4 separate regions of the Homo sapiens genome follow, and regions 2, 3 and 4 are each linked to region 1. Evidence: promoter capture Hi-C in 16 types of primary human blood cells and fetal thymus (Javierre and others, 2016). All regions are on one chromosome and are shown on one strand. The core of a region is centred on a gene start or on the middle of the fragment in contact, and the rest is flanking DNA. Distances in the headings are between cores, read along the strand shown.

The links. The method cuts DNA at HindIII sites, captures the fragments that hold promoters and counts their contacts. A CHiCAGO score of 5 or more calls a contact.
Region 2: a contact is called between a fragment that was not itself captured here and the fragment with the promoter of DENND3 in region 1, in 4 of 17 cell types (M0 macrophages, naive CD4 T cells, naive CD8 T cells and 1 more). The highest score is 5.6, in M0 macrophages.
Region 3: a fragment that was not itself captured here is called in contact with the fragment with the promoter of DENND3 in region 1 in 2 of 17 cell types (M1 macrophages and neutrophils); the score reaches 5.5 in M1 macrophages.
Region 4: a fragment that was not itself captured here is called in contact with the fragment with the promoter of DENND3 in region 1 in 1 of 17 cell types (total B cells); the score reaches 7.1 in total B cells.

What each region holds. Positions count from the first base shown.
Region 1 is chr8:141,127,339-141,130,194 of GRCh38, forward strand. It overlaps DENND3 (DENN domain containing 3), which reads left to right and starts at 1,251. Exons shown (of 23, transcript NM_001352890.3): 1 at 1,251-1,471. The coding sequence starts at 1,370. DENND3-AS1 (DENND3 antisense RNA 1) reads right to left here and starts at 2,803. Exons shown (of 2, transcript NR_183310.1): 1 at 2,686-2,803. RefSeq lists enhancers at 1-678, 1,512-2,342 and a silencer at 797-1,656. The HindIII fragment of the contact is 7,380 bases long and covers 1-2,856 here.
Region 2 is chr8:140,464,272-140,469,757 of GRCh38, forward strand. It overlaps LOC105375782 (a long non-coding RNA gene), which reads left to right and starts at 600. Exons shown (of 2, transcript XR_928707.3): 1 at 600-779; 2 at 1,514-2,668. RefSeq lists an enhancer at 1-1,027 and a silencer at 1,524-1,623. The HindIII fragment of the contact is 556 bases long and covers 2,395-2,950 here.
Region 3 is chr8:140,502,374-140,507,859 of GRCh38, forward strand. No RefSeq gene overlaps it. Among named protein-coding and RNA genes, the nearest start is that of CHRAC1, 6.2 kb to the right of the region's middle. RefSeq lists a silencer at 823-1,023. The HindIII fragment of the contact is 4,223 bases long and covers 878-5,100 here.
Region 4 is chr8:140,591,878-140,597,363 of GRCh38, forward strand. All of the region lies in intron 1 of AGO2 (argonaute RISC catalytic component 2), which reads right to left. Among named protein-coding and RNA genes, the nearest start is that of ERICD, 40 kb to the right of the region's middle. RefSeq lists enhancers at 1,598-2,098, 1,895-1,944, 4,926-5,265. The HindIII fragment of the contact is 226 bases long and covers 3,170-3,395 here.

The DNA.
Region 1 (2,856 bases), core at 1-2,500:
CCTCAGCTCACCGATGAGAGCCACCGATGGTAGGCAGCCTCCAGGCCTGGGGGAGAACCAGCAGATCCTCACCATCTTTAGGTTAATAAGTGAAATAAAACCTGTGAGTCAGGCTGCAGTCACGGCCTCACCCGGCTCAGGGAAGGAGGGAGAAATTCCTCAGGGCTCCCTTTTCTGATGTTGCCTTGCTTTGTACTTACTGTTCCTTTTCCTGTTCAGCTGATGACAGATGTTTGACATTAAGCATTTTAGAGTTTTGTTTTTTAGAAAATAGAATCATAGATTATCAGAAGTGGAAGTCCCTTTGGAATAATTTCCCCTGGGTTACACAGATGGCTATGGCAGGGTCAAGGGAGGGGACGGTCAGCGGGGACTGAGCGCAGGCCCCCTCCAGGCTCTGCAGCAATGACCAGGCAGCAAGCCGGCCTCCCGGGCTTGTGGGCTGTCCTCTTTCTCTGGGGTCAGCCTGAGGCTGGAAGAGGCCCGTGGCCCACCGGGCATCAGGCCAAGCCTGGAGCTGACCAGGGAAGGGCCCTGCCAGGCCTTGGGCCTCTGACCCTCAGTCCTGAAGCCTCCCTCTAGCGGCGCCCACCCTGCTCCTTTTCCTGCTGAATTTTACTCAAGTCCGTACTTGAGTATGGCCGGCCCTAGGTTAACCCCGCAGAGTTATTAACCAGGAGTGGCTCTTTCCACCCCCCCTTCCCGCCGGCCCTTCCTGCTGTCCACACCCGGCCAACTCCACTGTCCTGGCAAGGGAGGGCTTCCTGGAGGCGGCAGCGGGCGGCGCGTCCGGCCTTTGTCCCCCCACGCTCTCCAGGGTAGGTCCAGGGACTGCCAGATCAGGGGACCCTTTGCGTCCTGGAGCCTTGGGGGCTGGATGACGTCGCCGGGCACCTGAGGACCCCGCCCATTCCTCCCTCGGTTCCCCAGGGAGCGGGCGGCCGGCGGGGCTGGGCGGGGCCGAAGGAAGGGGCCGCTTGCTCCGACGCCGCGCACGCGCCAGGGCCCGCAGGCGGGTTAGGAAATGACGACCGCGCGCGGGTCTCCAGCAGCACCCGCCCTAGGACCGGCCCCGCCCCCAAGTCCCGGTCCCTAGGGCCGGGCACGCCACTCCAGGCCCCGCCCAGAACCTCCCCGCCCAGTCAAGCCCCGCCCCCAAACTCTGTCTCCCCGCGGTATCCTCTGGGGCTCTCCAGGCCCCGCCTCGGCTCGGGCCCCGCCCCTCCAGGCCCCGCCTCCAGCCCCGCCCCGCAGACGGCGCTCGCAGCGCCCCCGGCCCCCAGGCGGCGCGGCTGGTCCCCAGGGGTCTGCGGGCGACTGCGCGGCTGAGGCGCCCGAGTGCGGTACTGGCGGCGGGCGGCGGGCAGCCATGGCGGAGGCCGCGTCGCCGCACTTGTCGCTGCCCTCGGGGCTGCTGGAGCTCTGCGCGCTGCTGGGCGCCCCCCGGGACAGTCTCCGAAGTCTCGAGCAGGTGAGGGGCGGGGAAACTGAGGCGGACGTGGGCCACGAGTCGGCAGCCGGGACAGCAGTCGGAGAGCGGGCGCCCGGGTGCCCTGTGGGTTGGCGCGGACTTTCCGAGGGCTGAGTCCCGGTCCCCCGGCGGTGACCCCGCGCGCCTGTGGCCGGGGATCGCGCCCGAGCTCAGGCAGGTGCCCTGGAGCAGCGCCCTGCTCCCCTCCCCTCTTCTCTCCTCTCCCCGCCCGGGGCCCTTGGTGTGAGACATGTCTTTTGAGAGCTGCGAACTTGGTCCGCCGGCCGGGAATCTGGGGGTGCCGCCCCTCGGAGAGTCTCTGGGGCCTCTCTCTTCAGTCGCTCCCATCTTGGGCAGGTGCTTCTGAAGGTGGGGTGCACCAGACAACGGGCGGAAGCCGCCGGAGCCTCACGGTCTAGCGGGCCCAGCCCTCGCTGCTGAAATGATTTCATTCTTTATGCTGGGATGTGTTGTCCCCTGAGTAGTGGGTTTTGCACCAGGCACAGAATAACGAGAGAGCAATCTTAGAGTTAGCCGCCGGCCTCGCGTATTCTGCATGAACCCCTTTGCGATGAAGCCTATAGCTATTTTTCTCCCTTGCGGTACCACCCCCACCCCCAACCCTTCCTCCATCTCTGCACCCTCGCAGCCAAAGTGACAACTTCATCTCCCTTCTGCTGGGAAAGCGGCAGTTTTGGAAATTCTCGTTTTCCTTTTTCTTCCCCAGCTTTTCTTAATTCTGTAACGCTGGCTTTCCCTGGAATCCATCTGTGTCTCTGGTTTCCTCCTGGTCCGCCTGTCTGTGACACCGTGACTGGGTCATGTTACCTAGAGATCCCGGCGTCACTGGCCAGCCGTCTGCACAGGTCCGTTCATCTCTTTGCAGACAACAGCATAGAAAGGCAGAGAGGCTTCTGAGTATTTAAATGACGCTGGGCTATCCAGGGAAAATGAAGACTGCAGGGCAGAGGGTGTCACCAGGAAAGGCAGATGTTCCTGCAAGTAACCAGATGAATGTCTGTGAGTGTCCGGGGAGTTTCCCCTGCTGGGCGTCAGTACCAAGCCAGTTTCGACTTCAGTGAAAAAGCATTCTCCTATGGAAATAGTTTCCTCGTTTCCCTCAACTTTTCCTTCCCTTCAACGCCCTGTCATGTCAGTAGATCCCGTTTGACCTCTGTCTCCTCGCAACGTCATCGATTGATTTGTCTCCCTACCTCGAATTTGCCAGATGGCATCTCCTCCTTTTTCTTCGAATAGGAAGTGACCTAGTTGCCGCTGTGGTCTCCTCAGCCGTTGAACGTCTTTCCTCTGGGGCAGTTACAACATGGGTGTTAGTTGCTTGGTGTGACACATGTCTTTTGAGGGCAGGGCGAATCAACTGGAAT
Region 2 (5,486 bases), core at 1,423-3,922, 660 kb before region 1:
GCGTATACTCAGTAAACATGGAGTGAATCAGTTCATTCAATGAATGAACGAATGAATGAAACGCCAGAGCCCGCCACAGGGGTCCGCTGCCGCTCCACGCCCGGGCCTCTCACCGGCCAATCAACACTGTGACTCGTACGCCCTGCCCCCTGATGCCACGCCCATCACTCGCCCCTCTGGATTCCCTCCGGCTGCGTGGAAATCCCGGAGCACTGGATTTCCCAGAGGCGCCTCCGGTAGCAGTGCGCATGCTCCAGCGCCGGTAGCTGAGGCATCAATTTCCCGCAGCGCCTAGGGGACGGATTGGAAAGCGATTGGCTTAGGGGACGGAAGCCAAGCTCCACCTGCCTGACACCCGGCTCTTCACGCAGAACCGAAGATTCATTTTGGACAGCCCTTCCCCAGTACCACTCCCACCCCGACGTTGGTCCCAATCGGAACCTATCCTACACAAGGCTGAAAAAAAGAGGGGAGCGACCGGAAGTGACGCACGAGCGCGAGCGGAAAAACAGGGGCCCAGCGCCTGTTGCCGTGGAAACCGAGCCCTCGGCTTGCGTCCCGGGTGCGTCACAGCTCCGGCTGACCACGCCCCGCGCGCGGCCCCGAGGCCCTGAGGCCCAGGGCGGGGACCAAAAGCCGCGCGCTTGTGACGATGTCGCTGCGGGGCACGCTAAGGGGCGGAGAGGAAATTTAGGGCCTGCCTTTTGTACATTCGGTTATTCAGCCCAGAAATATGTATTCAACCCCAGGCGCGTGCCTGGCATTGTGGAAGGCGACACGTGAGGAGAATTGTGACTGGCCCAGATGTCACCCCCCCCCAGCCCAGTAGTCATTCTTCTCTGGAAGTCCTTACCCATCTCACCTGTTCATTCTTCAACCCCCAGTTTCCCGACCTTTTTCCTCAAGCCACGCCCTTCCACGCTTTCTTGTCTTTTCTGTGGTGTTCCTTCAGTCTAGAATATTCTCCACCTAGTACAATCCTGCTCCTCCCCTGACATTCTGCTGAAATTGCACTCTTCAGCCTTCCCAGGTAGCTGTGGGCTGTGACATGTGTCAGAGACTGATGAGTTTTCTTTTTACTTTTCTATATTGTCTCATTTTTTTTCTTTAAGCATACATACATTGATTTTATAATGAAACATAAATCATTTTTAAAGAGATCAGTTATTCTCAAAGAGCTTGTTACTTTCGGGAACACTTTTTGGGGTGTTTATATTTATATGTATTACTATATATGTACTTTATATGTATACTTTTAAATTCACAAAATTGACACGCATTGTAATAAGAATCGTGATTATATCCTTTATCCATAATCACCAATTTTTACATTTTTGCCTCATTTTCACATTCTTCCTCTCTCTCTCTGTGCCAATTATGTCCTTTATAGCTATTTCCCCTCTGTCCAGAATCATACTGTTTCAATTAGTTGTCAAATCTTTTTTTAGTATCCTTTTATCTAGAACAGGGTCTCAGTCTTTCTTCCTCTTTCATGTCTTTGTGAAACTTGCAGCTACCAGGATGAGACAACTCTACTCAGACCCAAGCACACCAAGCCAGGAATGCACAAAGGACGGCTGATGTTTGAGATAAGAACTGTCTCAAGGACTTTCTATAATAACCACACAAGGAATTCCTCATGTACGTCACAAGTCTCATGCGTTTCTCCACCTACGTTTTGCACATGTGCACACATTTATTGATTTAGAGGCAGGGATCTTGCTGTGCTGCCCAGACCGGACTCAAATTCCTGGGCTCAATCGGTCCTCCTGCCTCAGCCTCTAGAGTAGCTGGGACTCCAGGCATGCGCCACCCTGTTATTTCTGTGACCAGGCTTAGCACTAGGCATTCTTTCGGACGACAGCAATTCAAATAAGATGCTCTCCAAAGAACACTTGCCTAGTAGCGGCATCTCCAAAAATAAATTGATGCCGCTCCGGCTTTGAGCCTCCAGAACCAAAGAAACCTGTTTCCAGACAGCTTATGTGAACTTCTACTTTTGGCCAATAAGAGCTCCCACTTACCCCTGCCCTATTCAGGTGCACCTGTGGCTTGCCATAGCCATATAGCCAGGTGCACCATCCTTTTTGCCTGCTCCTGAATAAATTAATTATATTAGGAGACATCTTTCTCTGATGTCTTTTTTAGGTTAGCAACTCTAATATGTTGGAAGAATACAGGCCAGCTACTTTGTAGAATGTTCCTCAATTTGAGTTTGTATGATGCTTTCTCATGATTAGATTCAGGTTATGTATGTTTTGCAAAAATACCTCAGAAGTGATGGCATCCTTGGTGCGGCATCCTTGGTGCATTATATCAGGAGGCAAATGATGTGGGTTTGTCCCATTGTTTGTAATGGTAACATTGGTTGCTTGGTTAAGGTGAAGGGTGCCAAGCTTCTCCACTGTAAAGTTCCTATTTTTTTCTCTGTAATTAATAAGTAATTTGTATGATACTTTGAGATAACAAAGTAGACTGTTCATCAAACTTTCATCAATGAATTTAACATCCAAAGACGCCTCAAGAATGATCATCAAAAGCAGCCTACTAATGACTGTCATTTACCATTTAATACATTTCAAACAGTGCACGTGCTCTGTGACATATTCTGGGAAGGAACATGTTACCTGATACATAATAGGTGATCAATAAATAGTATTTACTGACAGGTTTCCTTCCTTTGTAGATAAATGAAGTTTCTTGTTTCATGGGGTATAATTAGAAGCATTACTTTAATTAGCCATCCTGATTATTCTTACTTTGTACCAGCATCTGCCTCAGTACCTAGTATATATTAGCAATTCATTTTTGAATTAATAATGGAAAATTATGTACACAAACACACATACACACCAAGAAATTATATCAAAAGATTAATTGTGATAATTGAGCAGTTAATGCTTAACCAAGTGTTTTCACCGATGCAGGGCAGTCACTGTTAGAACCAGAAAGCTTTTAAAAGAAAATTATGATAAGTCCAACTTAAGCAAATCAGATTTTACGTTACAAAATAAAGTTCAAGAAAAGAAAGGATTCGAAAGGAAAAAAATTCGAAAAGGATCACGTATGAGAAGCTGCAGTTCCATGTGTGACCACCAGGTGCCGGAACAAGCTAGGTAGCCACACTAGAAAAACAAACGTCCTCATCTGGGCTGAATTTGCATCTAATTGCCTCAAATTGCTTCTGAAACCCAGGATTTTTTCTGTCACTTTGTCAGTGGAGCTTAGGTCAGTGAGTTCTGGGCAAATCGAGAGTAGGCTGAAGCTGGGGGGGAATTCACAAGCGAGATTTAACTAAATTGGCAGTGGCTTATTCTCGAACTGGGTTACTTAAGAATTCAAGTTATTATATATTACATCATATTGTATTATATATTTTATATGTTACAGACAATATCTAGTAATCCAACTGGAAATATATGTTGTATATTACATATCAAGTTATTGTATTATAATTCAAGTTGCCTTATTCTTTATACCTTTTGGTTTTGATGCGTGGTTTTATACCTTTTGGTTTTTGTACGATCTCGGCTCACTGCAACCCCTGACCCCATGGTTCAAGGGATTCTCCTGCCTCAGTCTCCCAAGTAGCTGGGATTACAGGCATCTGCCACCACACCCGGCTAATTTTTGTATTTTGTTTTTTAGTAGAGATGGATTTTCACCATGTTGGTCAGGCTGGTCTCGAACTCCTGACCTCAGGTGATCCACCCGCCCCTGCTTCCCAAAGTGTTGGGATTACAGGCGTAAGTCACTATGCCTGGCCTCTTTATACCTTTTGTATGTCCTAAATACAACAGAGTTAAAGCAAAAGTTTTAAAGGAAAGACTGAGGCTACAGGGATTATGCAAATTTTTTCAAAGAACACAAATCAAATGGAGGGTTTGGGAGTTTTTAAAATCACAATTACCCATACCTTTGCAATTTCTTCTTCTTCTTCTTTTTTTTTTTTTTTTTTTTTTTAGATAGAATCTTGATCTGTCACCCGGAGGGCAGTGGTGCAATCTCAGCTCACTGCAGCCTCAACTCCCAAGTTCAGGCAATCCTCCAACCTCATCACATCAAGTAGCTGGGACTACAAGCACATGCCATCACGTGGCACGGCTAATTTTTGTTTGGTAGAGACAGGGTTTTGCCATGTTGCCCAGGCTAGTCTCAAACTCCTGGGCTCAAGCAATCCTCTGGCCTCAGCCTCCCAAAGTACTGGGATCATAGGCAGGAGTCACCATGCCCAGCCCCTTTCCTTCTTTTTCTGAACCAGGTAAAGAGGATTCAGATCAAACTGAACATCAGTGCGAATAGGACAAATATAAGTGGCTGGAAATATCCTGACAGGATGGAACTAGGAGAGCCCAGCAACATGCCTGTGGTGTTCCCGCCAAGGACGCATGCCCTGCGTCTAATCTTGATGAAACCACAGACAAACCAAAATGGGGACATTCTGCACGACCACTAGCCTGTGACCTTCAAAAGCACTGAGGTCATGAAAATCAAGGAAAGCCTGAGAAACCTTTCCAGGTTAAAGAAGACTAAAGAGACGTGACAACTAAGTATTATGCGTGATTCTGAACTGGATCATTTTGCTACAAAAATATACTATTGTGGCCAGGTGTGGTGGTTCTTGCCTGTAATCCTAGAACTTTGGGAGGCAGAGGCAGGTGGATCACCTTAGGTCAGGAGTTCAAGACCAGCCTGGCCAACATGGCAAAACCCCATCTGTACTAAAAATACAAAAAAAAAAAATTAGCCGGGCATTGTGGCAGGTGCCTATAATCCCAGCTACTTGGGAGACTGAGGCAGGAGAATCACTTGAACCCGGGAGGCAGAGGTTGCAGTGAGCTGAGATTTCACCACTGCACTTCAGCCTGGGCAACAGAGTGAGTGAGACTCTGTCTCAAAAAAAAAAAAAAAAAAAAAAAAATATATATATATATATATATATATATATAACATAGATATGCTAATAGAACAAATATAAGTGGCTGCCTTATATTATATGTTTATATTATATATAATTGGAACAACTGGTGAAACTTGAATAGAGCCTGAGGATCCTGTGGCAGCCACGTATGGATGTTACTGTCCTGACCTTGAGGGCTGTGTTGTGGTTATGCAGAATATCCTTGTTTGTGGAAAAGACACAGTCAGCTCTCCAGGGGCGCTGGGGTATCCCTCAGCTACTTACTCTAAACCAATTCAAGAAAATGAGTTATTTGTACTGTACTTGCGACTTAAGTTTGAAGTCGTTTCAGAAATTATTAAAAAGAGGATTCCAGAGAAAGTCCAAGCCGTTAAAAATACCCCATGATTTTCCTGGCCTGACTCAGAACTACTGAATGAAAACACTGGGGGCGTGGCCTTGAGATGTGTGTTTTCCAAAGCACAGCCGGGTCTGGAAAGCAGCTACTCCCCACGGGCTGGGAGAGGGAAGCACAGCCTGTGCACACAGACCGGTTCCTCTCATCCTCCTTTCATCCACATCACCA
Region 3 (5,486 bases), core at 1,739-4,238, 620 kb before region 1:
TCTGTCTCAAAAAAAAAAATAAAAAATAAAAGTCACAGCACAGACTCCAAGGGGTTTAGAGCAAAGATATACCCTCCTCTGAAAATGACTATTCTCCATTTAAGCATTACACAGCTTCAGATTTGCTACCAGGCACTGGTAGAGAACAAATGCCAGACTCTGGCACCCCAAATGAGGGTGTCTTTTGAGCATTATTATTTTGAAGGTCAAGTAAAGTTTATTAGTGAGGGTTCTTCCAGAGAGACAGAATCAACAGGGAAGTGGGCTGGGTGCGGTGGCTCACACCTGTAATCCCAGCACTTTGGGAGGCCGAGGCAGGTGGATCACCTGAGGTCAGGAGTTTGAGACCAGCCTGACCAACATGGAGAAACCCCGTCTCTACTAAAAATACAAAATTAGCCGGGCGTGGTGGCGCACGCCTGTGATCCCAGCTATTCAGGAGGCTGAGGCAGGAGAATTGCTTGAACTCGGGAGGCGGAGGTTGTGGTGAGCCGAGATCGCGCCATTGCACTCCAGCCTGAGCAACAAGAACAAAACTCCATCTCAAAAAAAAAAAAAAAAAAAAAGCAAGCAAGAAAGCCAGAAGGGTTGGGTCTACTCCAGTTCACGGACAGTCACTAACACTTTGAAGGTTCAGAAACTTGGAAAGAACATGTTTGGAGACAGAAAGACAAGAAGGTCTGGAGAGGGGGTGTGGATGAACCTTTTGGATTGGGGAGAGATGAGTGGAGATTTGTATTCCATGTGAATGCTTATCAAAGGACACCTTCTACACAGGAGGCCTTTACTCGGCAAATGGCAGGATCCCCCATTCGTACATGTCCATTGGTCTCTTTTCCAGCAGCTCTAAGGTGCCGCATTAGTGCTTATTCCATCAAGCTTACATATACAGTGGCCATGGCCACATCTGGAGCTATGGGAGCCAAGTCTGGAACTGATGCAGTAAGGGTGTCTGCAAGGGCCTTAGAGATTTCAGTCTTTCTGCTTTGTCCTTCTTGGCATGCTGGTTTTAGGCTTCATGCTTACTGCCTCATGGTTGAAAAATGGCTGCTACTGCTCCAGACTTTGTGACTGCATTAGACAAGAACAAAGGGAAAGGGCAGTTTCCACATTTCTTCCTCAGCCCTCAAGGCTTTGTCTTTTTTTTTTTTTTTTTTTTTTGAGACAGTGTCTTGCTCTGTCGCCCAGGCTGGAGTGCAGTGGTATGATTTCAGCTCACTACAACCTCTACCTCCTGGGTTCAAGCAATTCTCCTTACAGGTGTGAGCCACTGCACCCAAACAGCTTTGTCTTTTTACTGAAGAAAAGATACTCTTTTTTTTTTTTTTTTTTTTGAGACTGAGTCTCACTGTATCGCCCAGGCTGGAGTGCCGTGGCATGATCTTGGTTCACTGCAACCTGTGCCTCTTGGGTTCAAGTGACTCTTGTGCCTCAGCCTCCCGAGTAGCTGAGATTACAGGTACCCACCAGCATGCCCGGCTAATTTTTGTATTTTTAGTAGAAATGGGGTTTCACCATGTTGCCAAGGCTGGTCTCAAACTCCTGACCTCAAGTGATCTGCCCGCCTCGGCCTCCCAAAGTACTGGGATTACAGGTGTGAGCCCCCACGCCTGGCCGAAAATATCTTTTTAGCAGTATTCCTCTTACATGTAATTTGTCAGAGTTGGGTCATTAGCTCACCCTGTGACCAACGACTGGCCAAAGGGCATGATATTACTAGGACTGGTTTATGCCAATTAAGATTTGTATCTTTTTTTTTTTTTTCTTTTGGGATATGGAGTCTCGCTCTGTCACCCAGGCTGGAGTGCAGTGGCGTGATCTCAGCTCACTGCAAGCTCCGCCTCCCGGGTTCACAACATTCTCCTGCCTCAGCCTCCCAAGTAGCTAAGACTACAGGCGCCTGCCACCACGCCCGGCTAATTTTTTTTTTGTATTTTTAGTAGAGACGGGGTTTCACCATGTTAGCCAGGATGGTCTCGATCTCCTGACCTCGTGATCCGCCTGCCTCGGCCTCCCAAAGTGCTGGGATTATAGGTGTGAGCCACTGCACCCGGCCTGTATACTTTTGATTTTATAAGGATGTTGGCTATCTGATCCCTACTGAAATGAATTGGGGTGCGGGGTGGCAGTGAGGTTTAAGGAAAGGAATGCCAAAGTTGCCAACATATAAAATATTGGAGATTTTACTTATAAATCGAAATTGAAGACTGGAACAGCACTCACTGATCCCACATTGCCTCATGGCAAAATTGGCTGCCCTCTTAGGTAAGCCAGAGTCGTCACGTTTGCTACAGACCCCTCCATTCTCTATCACTCGCCTGTCAGCTTCACCCATTTCCATTACTGCTTGGACCCTGACTTAGGATACTGCTTGAGTTTTGTTTTGTTTTTAGAGACAGGGTCTCATTCTGTCACCCAGGCTGGAGTGCAGTGGCACGATCATAGCTTACTGCAGCCTGTAGTCACATGCCACCAGGCCTGGCTAGTTTTTAAATTTTTTGTACAGAAGGGGCCTTACTATGTTGCCCAGGCTCATCTCAAACTCCTGGCCTCAAGCAGTCCTCAGACCTCATCCTCCCAAAGGCTTGGGATTACAGGCATGAGCCACCATGCCTGGTCTCAGAGTGATCTTTTTGAGCATATGTTTCCCCCACTGGATTAGCACAGTGTTTGGCACCTAAAATGTAAACAGGATTTTTTAAAAAGGAAGTTGCCTATTCTAGTAAACTTGGCTAACAGTGCATGAAAGGAGTGGGAGAGGCTTTGTGTAAAAAAGAACCACAGGCAAATCTTAATCTCTGCTACTTATTAATACTAGCTTCCTCAGTCTGATTGTTTCCTTATCTGTAAACTGAAGTCAATAGCATCTGCTCCACAGCATTGCTAAGAAGCTCCTATAAGCTCGGGCATGGAAACCCAGACAAAACGCCGAAGTTCCCTCCTTCTCCAAGAAGGAAGATTGGTTAAGTTGAAATGAATTTGGGTTGGAATTAGGAAGAAAGATTTTAAGAGCTGAGGCCACATCTTATTATGTTTGCACAGCTAGAAGTGCTTAATAAATATTTAATAATGATTATAATGATCATTTAGCTCAATAGAATATAATTATACAAATTGTGAAAATAAAATTATGCCAGGCTGTCATTACAGATAATGGCCTGAATACAGGGATAACAAGGGGCACACCAGAGCCCGTTGCTGTGATGGCTGCCAACAGGCAGGGAGCTCACAGAGCTGCTGAAGGGCTCCATGCGGGGGTTGGGGGGCCTGGCAGCTAGAGAAAGGGGTAGGAGGAAGCAATCTGGGCCAAGGGGAGAGGCTGGTGGGAGCCGCATTGTGCAGAGCCTTGTGGTCCAGCATGGTGGACCCATCCCACAGGATGATGGAGTGGGAAGTCATTGGAGAGTTTTCAACAGGAGAACGGCAAGAGTTGATATATGATTTTAAAATGTTTTTATCATGGTAAAATATAAACATTACGATTAACATATACATTAACATATATATTAACATTATTGTTAATGAATGTTAATTTTATTATTTTGAGACAGGGTCTTGCTCTGTCACCCACACTGGGGTGCAGTGGCACAATCACAGCTCACTGCAGCCTCTACATGTTGTACTCAAGCAATCCTCCCACCTCAGCCTTCAAAGTAGCTAGGACCACAAATATACACCACCACACTGGGCTTTTTGTTTGTTTAAGACAGAGTCTTGCTTTGTTGCCCAGGCTGGAGTGTAGTGGCACAATCTCAGGTCACTGCAACCTCTGTCTCCTGGGTTCAAGCAATTCTCCTGCCTCAGCCTCCTCAGTAGCTGGTATTACAGGCGCCCACTACCATGCCCGGCTAATTTTTTAATGTTTTTAGTAGAGACGGGGTTTCACCATGTTGACCAGGCTGGTCTTGAACTCCTGACCTCAGGTGATCCACCCGCCTCGGCCTTCCAAAGTGCTGGGATTAAAGGCGTGAGCCACCGCGTCCGGCCCTTTTTTTTTTTTTTGAGATGGAGTCTCGCTCTGTCACCCAGGCTGGAGTGCAGTGGTGCAATCTCGGCTCAATGCCACCTAAACCTCCCGGGTTCAAGTGATTCTCCTGCTTCAGCCTCCCGAGTAGCTGGGATTACAGGCGTATGCCACCATACCTGGCTTTTTTTGTATTTTTAGTAGAGATGGGATTTCACCATCATGGCCAGTCTGCTCTCGAACCCCTGACCTCAAATTATCCACCTGCCTCGGCCTCTCAAAGTGCCAGAATTACAAGCGTGTGTCACCACGATTGGCCCTAAAGCAAAAAATTTTTTTTGAGATGGAGTATCCCTCTGTTGCCCAGGCTGGAGTGCAATAGCGTGATCTCGGCTCATCTCAACCTCTGCCTCCTGGATTCAAGCGATTCTCCTGCCTCAGCCTCCCAAATAGCTGGGATTACAGGCTTGTGCCACCACGCCCAGCTAATTTTTATATTTTTAGTAGAGACGGGGTTTCACCATATTGGCTAGGCCGATCTCAAATTCCTGCTCTCATGATCTGCCCACCTTGGCCTCCCAACGTGCTGGGATTATAGGTGTGAGCCACCGCGCCCTGCCTAAAGCAAAATTTTTAAAGGAAAGACTGAGGCTACATCTCTGCTATCTGCCAACCAGATACAGGGATTATGCAAATTTCTTCAAGGAACACAAATCAAGTGGAGGGAGTAGCTGGGATTACATGTTGGCCAGGCTGGTCTCAAACTCCTGACCTCAAGTGATCCGCCTGCCTCAGACTCCCAAAGTGTTGGGATTACAGGCGTGAGCCACGGCGCATGGTCAAGAATTGTTTTCAAGGACATTGTTAGAGCTGGAGGCGCATGACTGAGAAGGAGGCACGTCACTGAGAAGGGCGAGGTGCTATGGAGCAAAAGGGAGGAGACGCTACCTCGAGATCAGGAAGCTGGGACTGCCCCTGGCCTGGAGCCCAGGAGCCCACACTCGCCCCCGAAGGACTCCAGGGCTGCCACTGTTGAGCAGAAACTTAGAGTGAAGCCGCTCAAAGCTCCACATGTGCAGGTGGTGATCCCTATAACCCCACTGCAGTCCTCTACCCTGCAGCCAGCAGGCAGATAAAGCTTCTTCCTCCCACCCCACAGCGATCTTTCACAGGGGCCTCCAATTTGCAGAACCTACCCAGAAGCCAGCTGACAGGGCATTCTGGGAAGTGCAGAAAACTGCCTTGCACCACCCTGGGATACCCATGAGAATGGTGCAAGGTACTGTCGTGAAGACAAAGTGAGCCCCTAAAAAACAGAGCTAACGACAGGATGAGACTAACTCACTGAGCTTTTTCCAGAGCCAGGAAGTTCTCAAGGACAACAGTCTTGAATTCTGCCGTCTTAGGTTTAAAGCTTCTTTTTTTTACATTTTTTTTCTCTTTGTAGAGATGTGGGTCTTGTTATATTGCCCAGGCTGGTCTCAAACTCCTGGCTTCACGTATTTCTCCTGCCTCAGCCTCC
Region 4 (5,486 bases), core at 2,033-4,532, 530 kb before region 1:
GGGAGGCTGAGGCAGGTGGATCACCTGAGGTCAGGAGTTCAAGGCCAACCTGACCAACATGGTGAAACCTCATCTCTACTAAAAATACAAAAATTAGCCAGGCATGGTGGCAGGCACCTGCAGTCCCAGCTATTTGGGAGGCTGAGGCAGGAGAATCACTTGAACCCGGGAGGTGAAGGTTGCAGTGAACTGAGATCGCACCCTTGTACTCCTGCCTGAGCAACAAGAGCAAAACTCTGTCTCAAAAAAAAAAAAAATACTATAATAAAGACAAAGAGGAATTAAAGGAATACTGGTAAAATGTAAGTTATCTCCTACAGAAACATTCCCCAATCGGGGCAACTGATGAGACCACAGCATCTCAACCACCGGCCCTACCAAGACAGACCCGCACGCTGGTCCAGGGCTGCTCGAAGCCTGACACCTCTCAGTGGAGACATGAAGAATGCCTTATGCGTACATTTCTCTGACTCTTCTCTACAGCCTTTTCTGGTTTCAACTCTAGATTTCTTTTGTGATTCCGACTCTGTATCTGCCTCTCCCACTAGAATGTAGGCACTGCAATATAGCAAGGACTGTGTCTGTTTTTGTGCAACTGTTGACTGAATGAATACACAGATGAATAAAAGAATATCTTCTTGTTACACCAACTCTTAGTAAAAATGCCTTATGGGTTTATGACTCAATCCCAAGTGTTTTTAGGACAAAACCATAAGGTATCCATAGGAAGGCTATTACTCTACCTTTTACAAATAGTCTTTACTGTTTGTTTGTTTATTTTATATTTTATCCTTTTTAGTAGAGACAGGGGTCTTGCTATGTCACCCAGGCTGGTCTCAAACTCCTGGCCTCAAGTGATCCTCCTGCCTTGGCCTCCCAAAGTGCTGAGATTCCAGGCATGCACCACAGCACCCAGCCTGTTTCAACTAAGAAGCCAACATTTCTCCAGCATCAACATTACTCCAGTACAAGACTTCCAGCACATTCTTGTCTCTTCTCATGTCCTCGCTCTTGGACTTGTCTTCATTGCACAGCTGAGGAGCCAGGAGCTCCATGGGGTGAGGTGACAGCCAGGGCACCTGGGCAGCAGACCACAGGGCTAGGACTGTGATTTCCAGTTTGCCCCTCCACCAACATCAGCCATCAAATCAGCTGACCGCCCTGATGAGGGTCCATGTGACATCTCTTGTACTTCAGAAAGAGTCTTGTTCTCCAAACTGAATCCTTTTTTCACCCAAAACATACAAGAATCTGACCTACCTAACACATGTATGTTCCCTGAAAATATATACACCTATTACGTATCAATAAAAATAGACCAAAACTTTTTTTTTGAGATGGAGTCTCGCTGCCGCCCAGGCTGGAGTGCAGTGGCGTGATCTCAGCTCACTGCAACCTCTGCCTCCTGGGTTCAAGTGATTCTCCCACCTCAGCCTCCCGAGTAGCTGGGATTACAGGCGTGCATCACCATACCCAGCTAATGCTTGTATTTTTAGTAGGGACGGGGTTTCACCATGTTGGCCAGGCTGGTCTCAAACTCCTGACCTCAGGTGATCCACCCGCCTCGGCCTCCCAAAGTGCTGGGATTACAGGTGTGAGCCACTGTGCCCGGCCGACATACACTGATCTGCCACCCTCATGCCTCGTATCTGTGCTAAGCAGCTAGGAAAGTTAAAAAAAAAAAAAAAAAAAAACTTTGTGCCCTTTTACAGTAACTGATTCATCCTAGATACCTAGTACTTTTCTCAATATTTACATAAAATGTTTACTTCCCTTTTTAACATAAGTTCCCATAATTGAAGAAGCAATGGCCACCACCATTGTGTCAGGTACAATGCAGACCCCTTCAGGCAAATCAGCTCCTTTAATCCTTACCACGGGCAAGGCAGGCAGGATCCCCATCCTACAGATGTGGTCCGAGGTGTCTGACAGGCAGAGCTGGGATTCACACACAGCACTCACGGCTACCAGAGCACACAAGCCTTGCCACCAAGCCACGCTGCCTTGAATCGATAACAACTATGCTTAAATCAAACAAAAGGAGCTGGAGGAACCAAATGCGTGACAATCCATCCTCACCAGGTTCACTCAGTTCCATCTGCGAGCACAGGAATACCTGCCCACCAGTGAGGTCTGCCGGTGCCAAGCCCTGCACTAAGGGTTTCCTAAACTCTACCTCAACGCACGATGCCACTCACCCTACACTGCCTGAGCACCTCCTACTCCTGCTCTCAGGGCGCTCGTCTTCAGAAGAGGGCAGGGAGGAAAACCATCACCATCTCCCTGAATGGGCAGGCAAGCCACTGGCAGCACTCGGGTTGGCTGGAGGGGGCTTGCCAGTTAAGGGGACAGGAGAGAAATAACTCAGTCGGAACAATTTTCTGAATATTTGAAGGAAAAAAATAAGGTGAGCTCCCTCTCACATCCTATTACAAAATAAATTTCAAATAGAAACTGTAAATAGATAGTATTTTTAAATGGAACAAAAATATCCACAGAAATATTTTAAAATTTAATAACCTTTTATAGTTTTGGGGTGGGAATGCTCTTTCTGGGATTACAGGCATGAGCCACCGTGCCCGGCCCTCTTTCTTAGAACCAAAAAGAGGTTGCAAAAGGATGATTTTTGGCTGGGTGTGGTGTCTAACACCTGTAATCTCAGCACTTTGGGAGGCCGGGGCAGGTGGATCACTTGAGGCCACAAGTTCGAGACTAGCCTGGGAAACATGGCAAAATCCCATCTGTACAAAAAAAAATAAAAAATAAAAATAAATAGAAAATTAGCCAGTCATGGTGGCATGCCTCTGTAGTCCCAGCTACTCGGGGGTGCTGAGATGGGAGGATCACTTGAGCCTGGGGAGGTCAAGGCTGCAGTGATCCGAGATCACACCTCTGCCCTCCAGCCTGGCTGACACAGTGAGAACCCGTCTCGACGGAAAGAAAAAAACTGTGTGTGTGTGTGTGTGTGTGTGTGTGTATTTCTCTAATTGCATGACAAACTGGGAAATTTTTATGACATCATAAATACACAAACCTAAAGGTATAAACGTACATATACAGAGTTTATATAAACTAATGAAATCAAAAACTCCAACAGGAAATGGTGAGGGATATGACTGGATAGTGCATGAGAAAAAATGGCCACTCCCATCCATGTGGGGAGATTTCAAGCTTGTTTCAGAAGGCTTTTAAAATTACAAGCCTTTTGATCTGGTAACTCAACACCTAGGCATTTGTCCTAAGGAAATACCCAGGCGTCTACACACGAAAAGACTGAGAAGGACTGAAAGGTCCATCAGGAGAAAATGGGTTAAATGAACTGTGAGGACAGTTCAGTGACACTGCTTCTCCATTGATCACACGGCAAGAGCTCCATGTACTTGTAAGTGGGAAAAAGCTTCAGAATGGTGTTTGATGCAATCCCATCTGTCCTATATTATGCACACATACACATTTGGGGTATGAAAGGGAAAACTTAAGGAAGAATTATAAAACAAAATATTTATCGTGATTATTCCTGAGTGGTCAAGCTATAGTCTTTCCACTCTTCTCTATGCTTCTATTTATTCGTTTTATATCTTATTTTATTTATTATTTTATCTTATGAGACAGAATCTCACTCTGTTGCCGAAGCTGAAGTGCAGTGGTGCGATCATAGGGCTCAAGTGATCCTCCTGTCCCAGCCTCCCAAATAGCTGGGACTACAGGCGTGTGCCATCATGCCAGGCTATATATATAATATATATATATATTATATATATATTATTTATATGCCAGGCTATATATATTATATATATAGCCTGGCATATAAAATATATATAATTATATATAAATATTATATTATATAATATGTAAATGTTATATATTATATATAATTGTATATACAATTATATTATATACAATTGTATATACAATTATATTATATACAATTGTATATATTATATTTATATTATATACAATTGTATATATTATATTTATATTATATACAATTGTATATTATATAATATATAATTATATATATTATGTATTATATAATATATATTATGTATATAAATTATATAATATATATTTTATATATAATATATATAAATTATATATATTATATAATATATATATTATATATATATACACACACACACATACACACATATTATAGAGATGGAGCCCTCCTGTGTTGTCCAGACTGGTCTCAAACTCTTGGGTTCAAGCGATCCTCCTGCCTCGGCCTCCCAAAGTGTTGGGATTACAGCGTGAGCCACTGCACATGGCCTGTGCTTCTGTATTTTTTAAGTAGGTTTATTATATTTGTTATTTAAAACTAAATTATTTTTAAAAAATGAACAAACTCTGGGAGAAGGATGAATATTGGATACATCATTCTATTTTTCTCTGATATATCCCTAAGTTAAAGAAAACAGAAGCTGGCTGGGTGTGGTGGCTCATGCCCTGTAATCCCAGCATTTTGGGAGGCCAAGGCGGGTAGACCATCTGAGGTCGGGAGTTCGAGACCAGCCTGACCAACATGGTGAAACCCCGTCTCTACTAAAAATACAAAATTAGCCGGGCACGGTGGCGCATGCCTGTAATTCCAGCTACTCGGGAGGCTGAGATGGGATAATCACCTGAACCCTGGAGGCGGAGGTTGCAGTGAGCTGAGATGGCACCATTGCACTCCAGCCTGGGCAACAAGAGCAAAACTCCATCTCAAACAAACAAAAAAGCAAAATAGAAGCTTAAGATGTAAGCACAGATAGTCATTATGCCATTTAACAGATGCCCAGAGAGATTTAAAAAGTACCCAATGCAAGATCTGCAGTGAGCCCATTTTCCCAGCGTAGTCTCACAGATGAACAAAGTGGCATCTACAGGTGAGGCAGCACGTCCGGGTCACCTGCAGGCTGGGAGGAGTCGGTGGAGCAGCAGGGGAGAGGCAAGTGGCCGGGGTGGGGGACGGGCCCACGTCATCGCATGGCTGCTGTGTCGTCGTGACCGCTGTCTCATCCTGCGAGACACAACCCTGTCCGGGAGAACTCCCCTGGTGCCCACCAGCCCAGGGGGACCTGCCTGAGGGTGCCAGCCAGCCAAGGTGCAGACAGGCACCCTGGCCCCAGAGTGCGTCCCACTGTTCTGCACCGTTGCTGGTGAACATGTTGTTTGAAATAGAAGACTAAAGCCACAAAATGGGTTTTACGTCATGGTTAAAGGGAACTCACAGAGGAACTGTATAGAAGAAAAAAAAACTCAGCAGAAGAGCTGTTTCGTTCATTTATAACCACGCCCCTGCACTGTGTCCCAGCTCTGGCAGGGACGTTCCCTCCCTCTTCACACTTGCTGGGCTGAATCATCTGCAGAGGTGGCAGGAAAACCGCCTCATTTACATACACCCTTTCCGGCAAGCACAGCCAGGGATTCCAATTCCCAGAGCCTCCCAGCCTCTCCAGTGCCAACGCAGCGCAGCACGGATGCAGGGCAGCGTGGGCAGCGGT